Regions from separate parts of the Homo sapiens genome. Here all the other regions are linked to region 1. The links are contacts of gene promoters, found by promoter capture Hi-C in human tissues and cell types (Jung and others, 2019). All regions are on one chromosome and are shown on one strand. The core of a region is centred on a gene start or on the middle of the fragment in contact, and the rest is flanking DNA. Distances in the headings are between cores, read along the strand shown. Region 1 holds the start of DNAAF3 (dynein axonemal assembly factor 3). Region 2 overlaps SSC5D (scavenger receptor cysteine rich family member with 5 domains). Region 3 overlaps LOC105372462 (a long non-coding RNA gene). Region 4 holds the start of ISOC2 (isochorismatase domain containing 2).

Evidence for each region. The method cuts DNA at HindIII sites, captures the fragments that hold promoters and counts their contacts. A contact is called where the count stands out against the background at its distance.
Region 2: a contact is called between a fragment that was not itself captured here and the fragment with the promoter of DNAAF3 in region 1, in 2 of the 25 tissues and cell types used here (dorsolateral prefrontal cortex and lymphoblastoid cells).
Region 3: a fragment that was not itself captured here is called in contact with the fragment with the promoter of DNAAF3 in region 1 in 5 of the 25 tissues and cell types used here (IMR-90 fibroblasts, dorsolateral prefrontal cortex, lymphoblastoid cells and 2 more).
Region 4: the fragment with the promoter of ISOC2 here is called in contact with the fragment with the promoter of DNAAF3 in region 1 in 1 of the 25 tissues and cell types used here (mesenchymal stem cells).

The regions. Positions count from the first base shown.
Region 1 is chr19:55,164,780-55,167,956 of GRCh38, forward strand. It overlaps DNAAF3 (dynein axonemal assembly factor 3), which reads right to left and starts at 1,834. Exons shown (of 12, transcript NM_001256715.2): 1 at 1,744-1,834; 2 at 1,550-1,638; 3 at 1,079-1,221; 4 at 591-684. The coding sequence starts at 1,634. DNAAF3-AS1 (DNAAF3 antisense RNA 1) reads left to right here. Exons shown (of 4, transcript XR_007067345.1): 3 at 1-21; 4 at 1,040-2,125. LOC124904795 (small nucleolar RNA U13) reads left to right here and starts at 2,392; the gene lies at 2,392-2,495. RefSeq lists a silencer at 1,214-1,445. The HindIII fragment of the contact is 9,836 bases long and covers 1-3,177 here.
Region 2 is chr19:55,512,790-55,516,004 of GRCh38, forward strand. SSC5D (scavenger receptor cysteine rich family member with 5 domains) reads left to right here. Exons shown (of 14, transcript NM_001144950.2): 13 at 222-383. Among named protein-coding and RNA genes, the nearest start is that of SBK2, 23 kb to the right of the region's middle. The HindIII fragment of the contact is 4,152 bases long and covers 1-3,215 here.
Region 3 is chr19:55,421,003-55,424,318 of GRCh38, forward strand. All of the region lies in intron 2 of LOC105372462 (a long non-coding RNA gene), which reads left to right. Among named protein-coding and RNA genes, the nearest start is that of UBE2S, 15 kb to the left of the region's middle. The HindIII fragment of the contact is 5,851 bases long and covers 1-3,316 here.
Region 4 is chr19:55,460,239-55,463,650 of GRCh38, forward strand. It overlaps ISOC2 (isochorismatase domain containing 2), which reads right to left and starts at 1,404. Exons shown (of 6, transcript NM_001136201.2): 1 at 1,274-1,404. It overlaps C19orf85 (chromosome 19 open reading frame 85), which reads right to left. Exons shown (of 2, transcript NM_001386794.1): 2 at 2,763-3,412. The coding sequence ends at 3,234. RefSeq lists an enhancer at 2,789-3,412. The HindIII fragment of the contact is 25,257 bases long and covers 1-3,412 here.

The DNA of each region.
Region 1 (3,177 bases), core at 584-3,083:
CCCAAAGTGCTGGGATTACAGGTGTGAACCACTGCACCCAGCCTCTCCTGGAATTTTCTAAGTGGCTCTAAGATGTATTATATTTAGCCCCATTTTACAGGTAGGAGGAGCTGAGGCTCTAAGATGGCAAATTACATCAGAGGGGACCATCATCAATAAATATATTGGATTTTTTTTTTCATCAGAGGTACCACACTGGAAAATACCAAACATTTTTGGTTTTTAGATGGAGTTTCGCTCTCTTTTTTTTTTTTTTTTTTTTTTTTTTGAGACGGAGTCTCGCTCTGTCACCCTGGCTGGAGTGCAGTGGCGCGATCTCAGCTCACTGCAAGCTCCGCCTGCCGGGTTCACGCCATTCTCCTGCCTCGGCCTCCCAAAGTGCTGGGATTAACAGGCGTGAGCCACCGCGCCCGGCCGGAGTTTCGCTCTTGTTGCCTAGGCTGGAGTGCAATGGCGCGATCTCGGCTCACTGTAACCTCCGCCTCCCAGGAAAATAACCAAACTTTTTAATTGTACCATTGAAATGCCAGAATCCCTCTAGGGAGGGGGAGGAGACCAGCGGTCAGAATGCCTGGGTCCTAGCAACAGACCTTGCAGCCCCATCTTCTCCGGTTCCTCCAGGGCTAGGCTGAAGATCAGCATGTGTCGGGCCACAGCTTCCAGATTATTCTCCAGCACAAAGAACTAGAAGGATGGACAGGGCAGAATAATTCTGAGACCTGTTTGCCTGGGTCCTAGGAGACCCAGGAGAGCAGGCCCTCAGCTCTCTCCTTCCACACACCCGAGTTCTGTACACCAGCCTCTTCCTTCAAACACAGAAGTCTGTGTCCCCAGAGCTCTCTTCCCTTCCATTACTCAGAAGACCTCATCCTCGAGCTCTTCCCCACTATAGAACCCAGGAGTTCCAAACCCCAGCCCCTTCCTTCCCCCAAGACGCATCGGTTCGCTCCCAGCTTCTGCCTCCCTCAGATCTAGGAGTCTCCAGCCCCTTCATTCCTGGACCTGAGGTTTTAGAATTTCAATCCCTTCCTCCCTCAAGGACTCGGGAATCTGGGCTCTCATCTTCATCCCAGCTCACGTTGAACCTCCTGCGAGGCCAGAACTTCGCTCGGGACAGGGTCCGCAGCAGGTGCCGTCCATCCACAGAGCCCAGAAGCAGCACATCTAGCTCGGGGTTGCTGTGCACTGTATCGGCCTGGGAGTCTGGGTCCACAGGAGGACCTGGCAAGATGACAGCTGGCTGGGGCACCATGGTGGTTGGCAGAGCGTCCACCGTAGCATCCCCTATAAAAAATGGACTACAAATCCCAGTAGGCGTTCCGCCCGTGGCCTAGGTTCTAAGGGGAGGTGTTTCCTCTGAGTATTCTGGGATTCGCAGTCCGCAGACAGGACCTCGGGGCTGCCCCTGGGAGCGCGCCCTCTGCCGCTGGAGCGTTGGAGAACGTTAGCGCCCCCCTTGCCACCGACGCTGGGACTACGAGCTCTAAAAGGCCGTCTGCTCAGGCTGGGAAGGCAGACGGTGTATCAGACCTTGCGTGCTGGGACTCACTTTCAGCCTGCAGGTCCAGCGCCGGGGACAGGCCCCACCAGGACACGGAGCCGAAGCCGCTGCCGGAGCCGGCAGGTGTGGTCATCACCCTGCGGAAAAGACATTCTGGGAATCGCACACATTGCCCGCCCCGCTCCCCTCTCACCGCCCCTCACTTCTCGCCCCTTTGCCTCCACATGATACCTTGCCCACACCTTTATCCTCCAAATATCCCGGGACGCCCCTTCCTCTCTGCTCAGTGCAGCACTGTGGACCCGCGGCACTCCACAACCGCTGCCCAGAGTCCCCGCCCTTTTCGAGGAATCAAGCAATGGAAGCATGTGGGATGGGACCACAGCGAGCAACTGACCAATGAGAGTGAGCGAGGCCCGCCCTCTACAAACTTTTGGCCAATGGGAGCACTGAGGGCCAGCCTTCCCCCACACCTAGGAGAAGAGGGCGTGTGGACGCGGTTGTCATGACGACGGCGCCGGCGGGGGAAGGGGCGGTGCTAGAACAGGTTGGGGCGGAGTCAGGGTCGGTCCAAATTTCTGGAATGGGGGAGGCCTGGGCTGATTAAAATTGAGAGTGAAGGGAGCTTAATCTTATTTCTTGTTTTTTGTTTTTTTGTTTTCTTCATATGCCTTTGCTCATACGTAACGGAATTTTCATCAATTCAAATAAAGTGAAGTGTCTAGACTTTAGATGGCAGGCTTCTGAGCCCGCTCCCCGCCCCAGCACAACGTGGGCTCTACCACACAGAACAGCCCACAGGTGGGACACTGATGTGCAGGTCATTAAAAATTCAGGGATTTGTGAGCTGGTTATTGTTACACGAAGCCATAATTTAAACTTACAGCTAGATCCTTTTGTAGTTTCTAAGCGGGATGATTGGGTGTTCACGCGCATGCGTGAGATGTGCCTCCCTCAAACCTTGTTACGACATCGGCACATTACTCTTCTGACATGAACAAAAAAATTACAGGTAAATTCTGTAATCGTACAGTTAAATCAACTGCATTAAAATAAGGGTAAGTCGGCCGGGCGCTGTGGCCACGCCTGTGATCCCAACACTTTGGGAGGTCAAGGTGGGCAGATAACTTGAGGTCAGAAGTTGGAGACCAGTCTGGCCAACATGGTGAAACCGCGCCTCGACCTTAAAAAATACAAAAATTAACCGGGCGTGGTGGCACGCACCTGTAATCCCAGCTACTCCGGAGGCTGAGGCAGGAGAGTCTGTTGAACCTGGGAGGCAGAGGTTGCAGTGAACTGAGATCGCGCCTCTGAACTCCAGCCTGGGCGACAGAGCAAGACTCTGTCTCAAAAAAAAAAAAAAGAAAAACCAAAGTCTGAATGAGGCACATCTCTAGATCACCCCAGCACCCAGCACTGGGCTCAGCGCCCAAGGGGACTTGGCTCTCTGCCTCCTCTCCTTGCCCAGACACATGAGCTTAGACCAGTCACCCTTTCTGAGCCTCAGTCTGCTGCTCTGTGAAATGGGAATGTAGCGTGCAGCGGGCAGAGGTGCAGCGGATCTGCCTCCTGAGGGCAGATCTGGGCACTGGGAAGACAATACCTACTGGGGAAACGAAGGTTGAGACCTCAGACATTCCTGCAGAATCAGGCTGGCTAACCAGCCCCTTCCAGGC
Region 2 (3,215 bases), core at 402-2,901, 350 kb after region 1:
CCTTCATTTTATGTGCTAGTTTAGTGACCGTTTCCGTCGTTGGTAGCCAAAAACATCCCAGCTGAATGGAGAAGGTCTCCACGAGGTCAGGTAGGGCTGCAGTGGCGGTGCAGTTGAGACGGGATGATGCCTGAACTGGGGCTGGCCCAGGAGGAGAGAGACGGGGAGTCAAACTCAAAGGGAAGTTGGAAGACTCAATCCTCTTCCCCATATCTCTCTAGGCAGCAAAGATGGTTACAAGCTTCCCTGGACGTGGGACACACCATCAGGAAGGGGCCTGGCTGAGGGGACCCCTACCGCAGGCAAACTAGGACCAACTCTTGGGGCTGGCACCACCAGGAGCCCAGGCAGTCCTCCAACTCTGAGAGTCCATGGAGACACAGGTGAGACACGTGGCTGGGGTGAGGAGACTGGGACGGTATTTGTCCTGGGGTAAAGAGACAGATTCCAGACTCCCCACTGGAACCCTTACCCCAGAAAGACTCAGCAGAAATATACCCTAAAACAAAGGGTTATCGGCTGAGCATGGTGGCTCATGCCTGTAATCACAGCACTTTGGGAGGCCGAGTTGGGAGGATTGCTTAAGCTCGGGAGTTTGAGAGCAGCCTGGGCAACATGGTGAGCCCCCCAAGATATGAACATTAGCTGGGTGTGGTGGTACGCACGTGTGGTCCCAGCTGCTTGGGAGGCTGAGGCAGGAGGATCCCTTGAGCCTGGGTGCTCGAGGCTGTGGTTGTGCCACTGTATTCCAGCCTGGGTGCCAGAGCGAGACCTTGTCTCAAATAAAGACAAAAACAGAACCAAGAGGTTATTATCTAGACCGCTGGTCATCAACTAGGGTCGATTTTGCCCCCAAGGGGAATTTGGCAATATCTGAAGATATTTTGGATTGTCATGGCAGGAAGTGAGAGGCTACCCATTGGCACCTGATCGGTAGAGGCCGGGGTGGTGATAAACATTCACAATGCACACGACATTCCCCATAACAAAGAACCACCCAGCCCTAAATTACAATAGTACCGAGGTTGAGAAACCCCAGCCTAGATGGCATAAGTCACTGTGACAAATAGGAAAATGATAGGAAACCCTAGATGAGAAAGAGGAAAACAGGTGATTCCCAGAAAAGGAAGCCCAAATGGCTGAGTGTATTTAGAAATGCCCACGCTCATCAGGAACCAGAAAATACAAATTAAAACAATGGCAAGTACAGAGGAGAATGAGAAAGGTGGGTATTATCCAGTGTGAGTGAGGATGTGGGAAGACAGGCAACCCCACTGGACAGAGCTGTTTGATAAAGACAATCCAGCAGTATTTAGTAAAGTTAAGCATGATTAGGCTGGCTGCAATGGCTGACGCCTGTAATCCCAGCACTTTGGGAGGCTGAGGCGGGCAGATCACGAGGTCAGGAGATCGAGACCATCCTGGCTAACACGGTGAAACCCTGTCTTTACTAACAATACAAAAAATTAGCCAGGCGTGGTGGTAGGCACCTATGGTCCCAGCTACTCGGGAGGCTGAGGCAGGAGAATGGCGTGAACCCAGGAGGCAGAGCTTGCAGTGAGCCGAGATTGCGCCACTGCACTCCAGCCTGGGCAACAGAGTGAGACTCTGTCTCAAAATAATAATAATAATAATAATAATAATAATAATAATAATAATAATAATAATAGGTGTGGTGGCAGGCGCCTGTAATCCCAGCTACTCGGGAGGCTGAGGCAGGAGAACTGCTTGAACCTGGGAGGCGGAGGTTGCAGTGAGCTGAGATCGCACCACTGCACTCCAGCCTGGGCAACAGAGAAAGACTCTGTTAAAAAAAAAAAAAAAAGAGAGAGAGAGAAGAAGGGAGGAAGGGAGAAAGGAGGGAAGGAAATCTGCATGAGCTCCATGACGTAGATCTATAATTTTGCCCATTTCTCAGATGAGTGAAATTGAGGCACAGACATCAGTGACTCTGACATCAATAATTATTAGAGTGCTTATTCCATGCTAGACATTACACTAAGTGCTTTGCACAACCATGGTCTCCCTGAGTCCTTTTGACAGCTCTGCAAGGGAGATACGCGGATCATCCACAGTCTATAGCTGAGGAAGAAACTGAGATTCAAGCAGTGAAGTAACTTGGCCGTGGTCACCCCGCTAGGAAGCCATGCAGCTGGGGTTTAAACTCGGACAGCCTGCCTTGAGCACAAGCCCTTTACTTAACCGCTTCTCCAATCCTGCAAACAAAGGACAAGGTGGGGAAGGGATGCGCCTGAAAGACCCTGCCCTGCAGGAACAAGTGGAAATCTGTAGATCTGTGTGGTTCAATACGGTAGCTAAGAGCACCGGGCATGGTGGCTCACGCCTGAAATTCCAGCACTTTGGGAGGCTGAGGCAGGCAGATCACCTGAGGTCGGGGGTTCAAGACTAGCCTGAACAACATAGTGAAACCCCATCTCTACTAAAAATACAAAAAAATTAGCTGGGCATGGTGGCACATGCCTGTCATCCCAGCTACTCAGGAAGTGGACACAGGAGAATCACTTGAACCCAGGAGGCGGAGATTGCAGCGAGCCAAGATCGCGCCACTGCACTCCAGCCTGGGCAACAGGAGTGAAACTCCGTCTCAAAAAAAAAAAAAAAAAAAAAGTTAAATGAATTAACACTTTGAAAATGAAACATTTGCCGGGCGCAGTGGCCACGCCTGTAATCCCAGCACTTTGGGAGGCCGAAGCGGGCGGATCACGAGGTCAGGAGATCGCGACCGTCCTGGCTAACACAGTGAAACCCCATCTCTACTAAAAATACAAAAAATTAGCAGGACATGGTGGCGAGCGCCTGTAGTCCCAGCTTCTCGGGAGGCTGAGGCAGGAGAATGGCATGAACCTGGGAGGCAAAGCTGGCAGTGAGGCGAGATCGTGCCACTGCACTCTAACCTGGGCGACAGAGTGAGACTCCGTCTCAAAAAAAAAAATAAAATAAAATAAAAGAAAATGAAACATTTAGTTTCTCATTCACACTGGCCGCATTTCAAGGGCTTGGTAGCCACATGTGGCCAGTGGCTACTGTATTGGCACGGTAGATCACAGCGCATTCCCATCACTGCAGATGTGAGATTTCATTGCCTAGACTCTATGTGCAAACAACTTGGGTTCAAGTCTTAGCCCTGCAACTTGCAAACTATGTCTGTGTGACCTTGGGCGAGTCACCTGCCCTCTTGCCCTAATTTCCCCCTT
Region 3 (3,316 bases), core at 554-3,053, 260 kb after region 1:
AGAAAAAAGATAACTACATAGCATCAGGCTAAGTGTGGTGGCTCATGCCTGTAATCCAAGCACTTTGGGTAGTTGATACCTTGATCTTGGACTTCCAGCCTCCAGAACTGTGAAGAAATAGACTTCTGTTGTTGGCCAGGTGCAGTGGCTCCCACCTGTAATCCCAGCACTTTGGGAGGCTGAGGCAGGAGGATGGCTTGAGCCCAGGAGTTTAAGACCAGCCTGGGCAACACAATGAGACCCCCATCTCTATTAAAAAAAAAGCTTAAAAATTAGCCAGGCATGTTGGTGTGCACCTGTAATCCCAGCTATTCAGGAGGCTGAGGTGAGAGGATCCCTTGTGCTCAGAAGGCCAAGGCTGCAGTGAGTCTCGTTGGTGCCACTGCACTCCAGCCTTGGTGGAGTGCACTCAGAGCATATGAGCTCTGAGCACATGAACTTCAGGAAGCATGAGAGCATGGGCTTCCTTCAGCCAAAGCGCTGAGACTCTGGCATCCCTTCTGTGGTTTTCCTGTCTCACACATGTAACCCAGATCTAATCATGAGGAAACATCAGATGCGCCTAAATGCAAGGCATATTCTATAAAATGGCCTACCTGGATTCTTTAAAAAATCAGCATTAAAAAAGGCAAAGACTGGGCTGGGCGTGGTGGCTGCCACCTGTAATCCCAGCACTTTGGGAGGCTGAGGCAGGAGGATCACTTGAGCCCAGGAGTTCTAGCCTGGGCAACATAGTGAGACCCCTTCTCTTAAAAAAAACATCTCCTTAATCTCTGCGTGAATTGTGTGCAATAATAAAAAATAAAAATAGAAAAGAAAGACAAAGACTGAGTAACTGTTTCAGAGTGAAGCCACCTCAGCCGGGCGCAGTGGCTCATGCCTGTAATCCCAGCACTTTGGGAGGCCGAGGCGGGCGGATCACAAGGTCAGGAGATCGAGACCATCCTGGCTAACATGGGGAAACCCCGTCTCTACTGAAAATAGAAAAAAATCAGCCAGGCTTGGTGGCGGGCACGTGTAGTCCCAGCTACTTGGAAGGCTGAGGCAGGAGAATGGCGTGAACCCAGGAGGCGGAGCTTGCAGTGAGCTGAGATCGCACCACTGCACTCCAGCCTGGGCAACAGAGCGAGACTCTGTCTCAAAAAAAAAAAAAAAAAAAAGAAGCCACCTCAAGAAGCACAATAGCTGCATGCAACACCCAATCCTGGAGTGTCACAAACTGAAAGCTGCTCTGAAAGACAGTAGCAGGACGCTTGATGCAATTCAAACATGGACTTGGTCAATGCTAAATTCTTGAGTGTGATAATTATGCTGTGGATGTGTAAGAGAGTGGCCTTGTTCTTCAGAATGGCCTCTAGGGGTAAAGGGATGTGATAGGTGCAACTTACTCCCAAATATCTCCAAAAAAAAAAAACACGATTTTTTTCTTTTTTTTAGAAGGTGTCTCGCTCTGTAACCCAGGCTGGAGTGCAATGGCACGATCTCGGCTCACTGCAACTTCCGCCTCCCAGGTTCAAGCGATTCTCCCGCCTCAGCCTCCTGAGTAGCTGGGATTACAGGCACCCACCACCACGCCTGGCTAATTTTTGTATTTTTAGTAGAGACGGGGTTTCACCATGTTAACCGGGATGGTCTTGATCTCCTGACCTCGTGATCTGCCCGCCTCGGCCTCCCAAAATGCTGGGATTACAGGGGTGAGCCACTGCACCTGGCTTTTTTTTTTCTTTCTTTTTTTTGATGGAGTTTTGCTCTTGTTGCCCAGGCTGTGGTGCAATGGCACGATCTTGGCTCACTGCAACCTCTGCCTCCTGGGTTCAAGCAAGTCTCCTGCCTCAGCCTACCGAGTAGCTGGGATTACAGGCGCCTGCCACCACGCCCAGCTAATTTTTTGTATTTTTAGTGGAGACGGGGTTTCATTATGTTGGCCAGGCTGGTCTCAAACTCCTGACCTTAGGTGATCCACCTGCCTCAGCCTCCCAAAGTGCTGGGATTACAGACATGAGCCACCATGTCCGGCATTTTTTTTTTTTTTTTTTTTATGAGACAGGTTCTGGCTTTGTGGCCCAGGCTGGAGTGCAGTGGTGTGATCTTGGCTGACTGCAACCTCTACCTCCTGGGCTCAAGCGATCCTCCCGCCTCAGCCTCCTGAGTAGCTGGAACTACAGGTGCATGCCAGCATGCCCAGCTAATTTTTTGTGTGCATATATATATATATATATTTTGTTGTTGTTGTTGTTGTTTTGTTGTTGTTGTTGTTGTTTTGGTAGAGATGAGGTTTCACCATGTTGCCCAGGCTGATGTCAAACTCCTGAGCTTAAGCAATCCACCCATCTCGGCCTCTCAAAGTGTTGGGATTACAGGTATGAGCCACCGTGCCCAGCCGAGATGAATATTTATATGGAAAGAAAACCATACAATGATGTCATATAATGGTAACAAATGGTGAGTTGGTGAAAATGACACAGAAGTTCTTTGACTTATTCTTGTAACTGTTCTGTACATTTGAAATTATTTCAAAATATAAAGTCAAGAAAAGTGAAATGAAAAAGCATGCACACAACATCTGGCATAGATTTGAGACATTCACAAGCCCACCCTTCAAATGCGGGTTAAGAATAGCTGCTGAGAGGCTGCATTTATTGGCACAGTCGGGTTGCCAGTTGAGCGAGTGTTAGGTGACAAAGGCGAACACTGAAGGCAGAATGCTCATGTCAGATCTTATCCTTGACTTGCCCGCCCTGCACACAGTGGGTGTGGAGCAGATTGCTCTTCTCTTGTTGAACACAAATGAATCCGTTGGCTGGCATGTGGCATCCATGAGGAATGAAAATACATACACTGAAGCACTGGAGTTCCGATTCAGAGTGGGAAGCTAATCACCCTCTGAGGGAGAGGAATGAGACTCCAGTCGCCCATCTCTCTCACGTGTCTTGGCATATGCTTAGTGAGGGGAATGGCAGGCAAAGTCTGCACCATTTGCATTTAAATCTACGCTGTGGGAGGCTGAGGTGGGAGGATCGCTCGAGGTCAGGAGTTCAAGACTAGCCTGGTCAGCATAGCCAGATTCCCATCTCTACATTTATATTTTTTTAAATTCTTTTTTCTTTCTTTTCTGTTAATTAATTAATTAATTAATTTATTTATTTATTAGGCAGAGTCTCACTCTGCCAGCCAGGCTGGAGTGCAGTGGCACGATCTTGGCGATCTCAGCGATCTTGGCTCACTGCAACCTCCTCCTCCTGAGTTCAAGCGATTCTCCTGCTGCAGAATTTAAAAATTCTATTAAAAAAAAAAAGTAGGGCCAGGCATGGTGGCT
Region 4 (3,412 bases), core at 154-2,653, 300 kb after region 1:
TAACAATACGAAAACATGTTTGAGAGAAGTGAAAAAGAAGCAGAACAGTGTGTATGGAATGCTCCTTTTTGTGCCAAAGAAAAAAGGGAGAGGAAAATGTGTCTGTGTTGCCTATATCTATATCTGCTATCTCTGGCAAACAAGCAAGAAACGGGAGACTCAGGCGGGTGAACCAGGCACCGGGGAAGTCTGTAGGAGCCTTTTCACTGGGTCCTATTCTGTTTCTTCTGAATTCTGGACAATGTGCAACAAGTTGTCTAGTCAATACTATATACAATAAAGGGTTGGCATAAAGCCAAAACCCGGCAAAACTGATCTATGGCGTCAGAAGCCAGGACAGTGACTGCCCTTGGACCACAGTGATGGAAACGACGACGGCGGGAGATCCTGGGATGTGGCGCATGTTTGACTTTTTTCTTTGGATACTTGTTTACACCAGGGTGCTCCCTTTATAAATATTTATTTAAGCTGTGTATTTGCAAACCGTTCGATTTTCTGCGTTTGTGGTATTATTCCAGAAAAAGTGTTCAAAATGCAAAATACAAAGATGGCTTCAGGCCCCCGCCGTGCGGTTGAACTGGAGGCAAAAGGCCAGAGAGCAGGAGGTCGGCGCTGGGGCCCAGTGGGACAGGGGAGAGTCAGGAAGGGGCAGCTGGGACGGTGGGGAAAGTCGGGGAGAAAGGCCCCCAGTTTCTGGTCGAGCGAGGGGCATGATCTGAAGATTCATAGGGGATCCCGGGGAGGGGAACTGGTTTTTGGGAGATGAAAAATTGGGGTGAGGGTGGGTGTGTGAGAGAGAGAGATGTGAAGGGGAGGTCTGGGCTGGAGAGGGTTGGGCGTGTCCTGCGGAACGAGGAGAGATTCAGCCTGGGTGGAGGGTACCCAAGGCCAAAGGGGGCGTGGCTGGAGGTGGGCGGCAACAGGGGGCGGGGTAGGGCCGTTGATTTCCCCACCCGGTCTCGGAAACCCGGCCTTGGAGCCCGGACTTCCTGGCTGTGTGACCTTGGGCAAGTTTCTCTTTGTCTTAGCCTCAGTTTTCTCGTCGGAGAAATGGGGATTAAACCTGCCCACCCCCCAGCGCTGTTACAGAGGCGGCAGGCGCGACCCGGGGACGCTTCCAATCTCTGGCCAGCCAATTCTGGCGGGGCCAGGTGGAGTCCTCCTTCTGGTCCTGTGACCTTGGCCCGGGACGCCCAGGCAGAGCCTCAGTTTCCCCATCTGCTAGGCGGTAAGGTCGGTCTCCAAATAGCGCCAGCAGCGAGAGAGGACTTACCCGGAAGGTGCCGGGTTCGAGCCCGGAACGGCCCCTCTGCAGGTGAGGCGGGGGCACCCTCACCTCTCGGCTCTCGGACGGCCACCGCTGAGGCCTCTTGCGGGCTTCCCAGGGCTGGTTACCGTTTCGTTAGGGCTGGACACGTGGCCCACCCCCTGCACCGTCCGTTTTCCGCCCACTTGGGCCCAGCCGTCCAATCGACACTCATCATGCTCTGCCTCGCCGCTCTCTCCGGCCAATCCGCATGTGCCACTGCCTCTGCCCGCAATCGGCGCTCACCAACTCACCCCGCCCCCTGCCTCTCAACCAATCCGCATATGCAGCTGCTTTGCTCCCGCCCCAGGGGGGGCGGTGCCGGCAAGGCTGTCAGTCTCAAGAAAATGATTAGCTCGCAAAGGCGCCGTGGGGGCGGGGCAGCAGGTCGTTCTGCCAATGGAGAGCCGTAGAGGGCGTGAGTGGCGGCCGACGGGGCGGAGTCGCGCGGTGGTCTCCGAAGGCTCAGACTCTGGCTGGAGAGAGGGCGTCTCGGCCGGCCCCATTGCACAGAGCAGACCGCCGAGGCCGGGAGAGAGAGAGAGGGGTCTTACCTAGAGTAGAGGCATGTCTGCGGTTCGAAACCTGGCCCTCTCTCAAGAAACGGAGGCTTACAAAGATACCCAAGCACTTTCCAGGAAGGGGCTGGCTGAGGGAGCGATCAAGTGAGGAATTTGACGCCCCCCTGTCCTTTGCGCTCTGTGCTGCCTCAGTTTCCCCATCTGTACAGCACCTGCCTCCTCGGGTGGTGTTTAGAATAATTTAGACTCTGTGCTTGGAAATGGAGGTTGAGAGAAAGAGAGAATTTCCTATCTGTCTTGGAATAAATCCAAACTCCTCCCAATTCATGGTCGGCCTTCCTGGTCCGTGCAGACCTCGCCTCTCACCACTCCCCCTGCTCACTCCGCTCCAGCCACAGGGGTCTCCTCTTGCTCTTCCCTCAATGTCCCACCGCAGGGCCTTTGCACGTGTGCTGCCTCAGCCTGGAATCCTAGGACTCCCCATGGCCCAACCTTCCAGGCTTTCAAAGCCTTTCCTGACCACCTGGTGTCAGGTAGCCCTTCCATCAGGTCGCTGTTTTTAATTTTTTTGAAACATCAAAAAAAAGAAAAAAATTGCTCTATCACCCAGGCTGGAGTACCATGGTACGATCACAGCTTGCTGCAGCCTCAACCTCCCGGGCTCAAGCGATCCTCCCACCTCAGCCTCCTGAGTAGCTGGGACCACAGGTATGCGCCACCACACCTGACTAATTTTTTAATTTTTTTGTAAAGATGGAGGTCTCACTCTGTTGCCCAGGCTGGTTTTGAACTCCTGGGCTCAAGTGATCCGCCTGCCTTGGCCTCCCAGAGTGCTGCGATTACAGGTGTGAGCCGCCGCACCCGGCCTTGTGTTTTATTTTCTTTTCAGCACTAACTCCAATCTGAATTGGAAATGAATCTTGCTTTTTGAAAAATGCATGGATATACTCTTTTATTGTCTGTTCCCCGCCAAAACACACACATGCACACAGAACAGGGAGCTCCCTGAGGCAGGGGTCCCGTCTGCCTCGTTCACAGCTGAATCCTCAAGTCCTAGACCTGGGCCTGGCCCATAGTAGGCGCTCGATACATCTTTGGGAATAAATGACAGGAGAGCAGACATTAGGCAGAGGTGAGCCTGGGTGAGAGTGAGGGGTGGATGCCCAGATGGGGCTAGGCAGAAGGAAGGGGGAAGGCAGGAAAGCAAGAAGAGGTGGAGGTGGGGCCCCTGGGCCCAGGAGGAGACCCCTGAGGCAGTGGTCTGAAGTGGGGGTCTGGGTTGGTTTATTTTCCCAGGGGCTGCCAGGAAGGGAGTGGACAGGTTGGGGGCTCCTGGAGAGGGCTGTAGAGCCGTCGTGGAGGGGCCTCTGGCTTGTCCTGGGTTCTGGGCTGGGTTGTGATTGGCCTCATGGGGAGCTGGTCCCCCAACCCTCGGGGATCCCCTGAGAATCCCAGGCACGAGGCACCTCCCAGCAGTCCACCCAACCCCAGTCGGGAGCCACGAGATCAGCCTCTTCCCCCAGGGCATGCTGGGGAAGGGGCAGGGGGCCGCAGAAATGTGGGACCTGCCTCAGGTCCAGCTGGC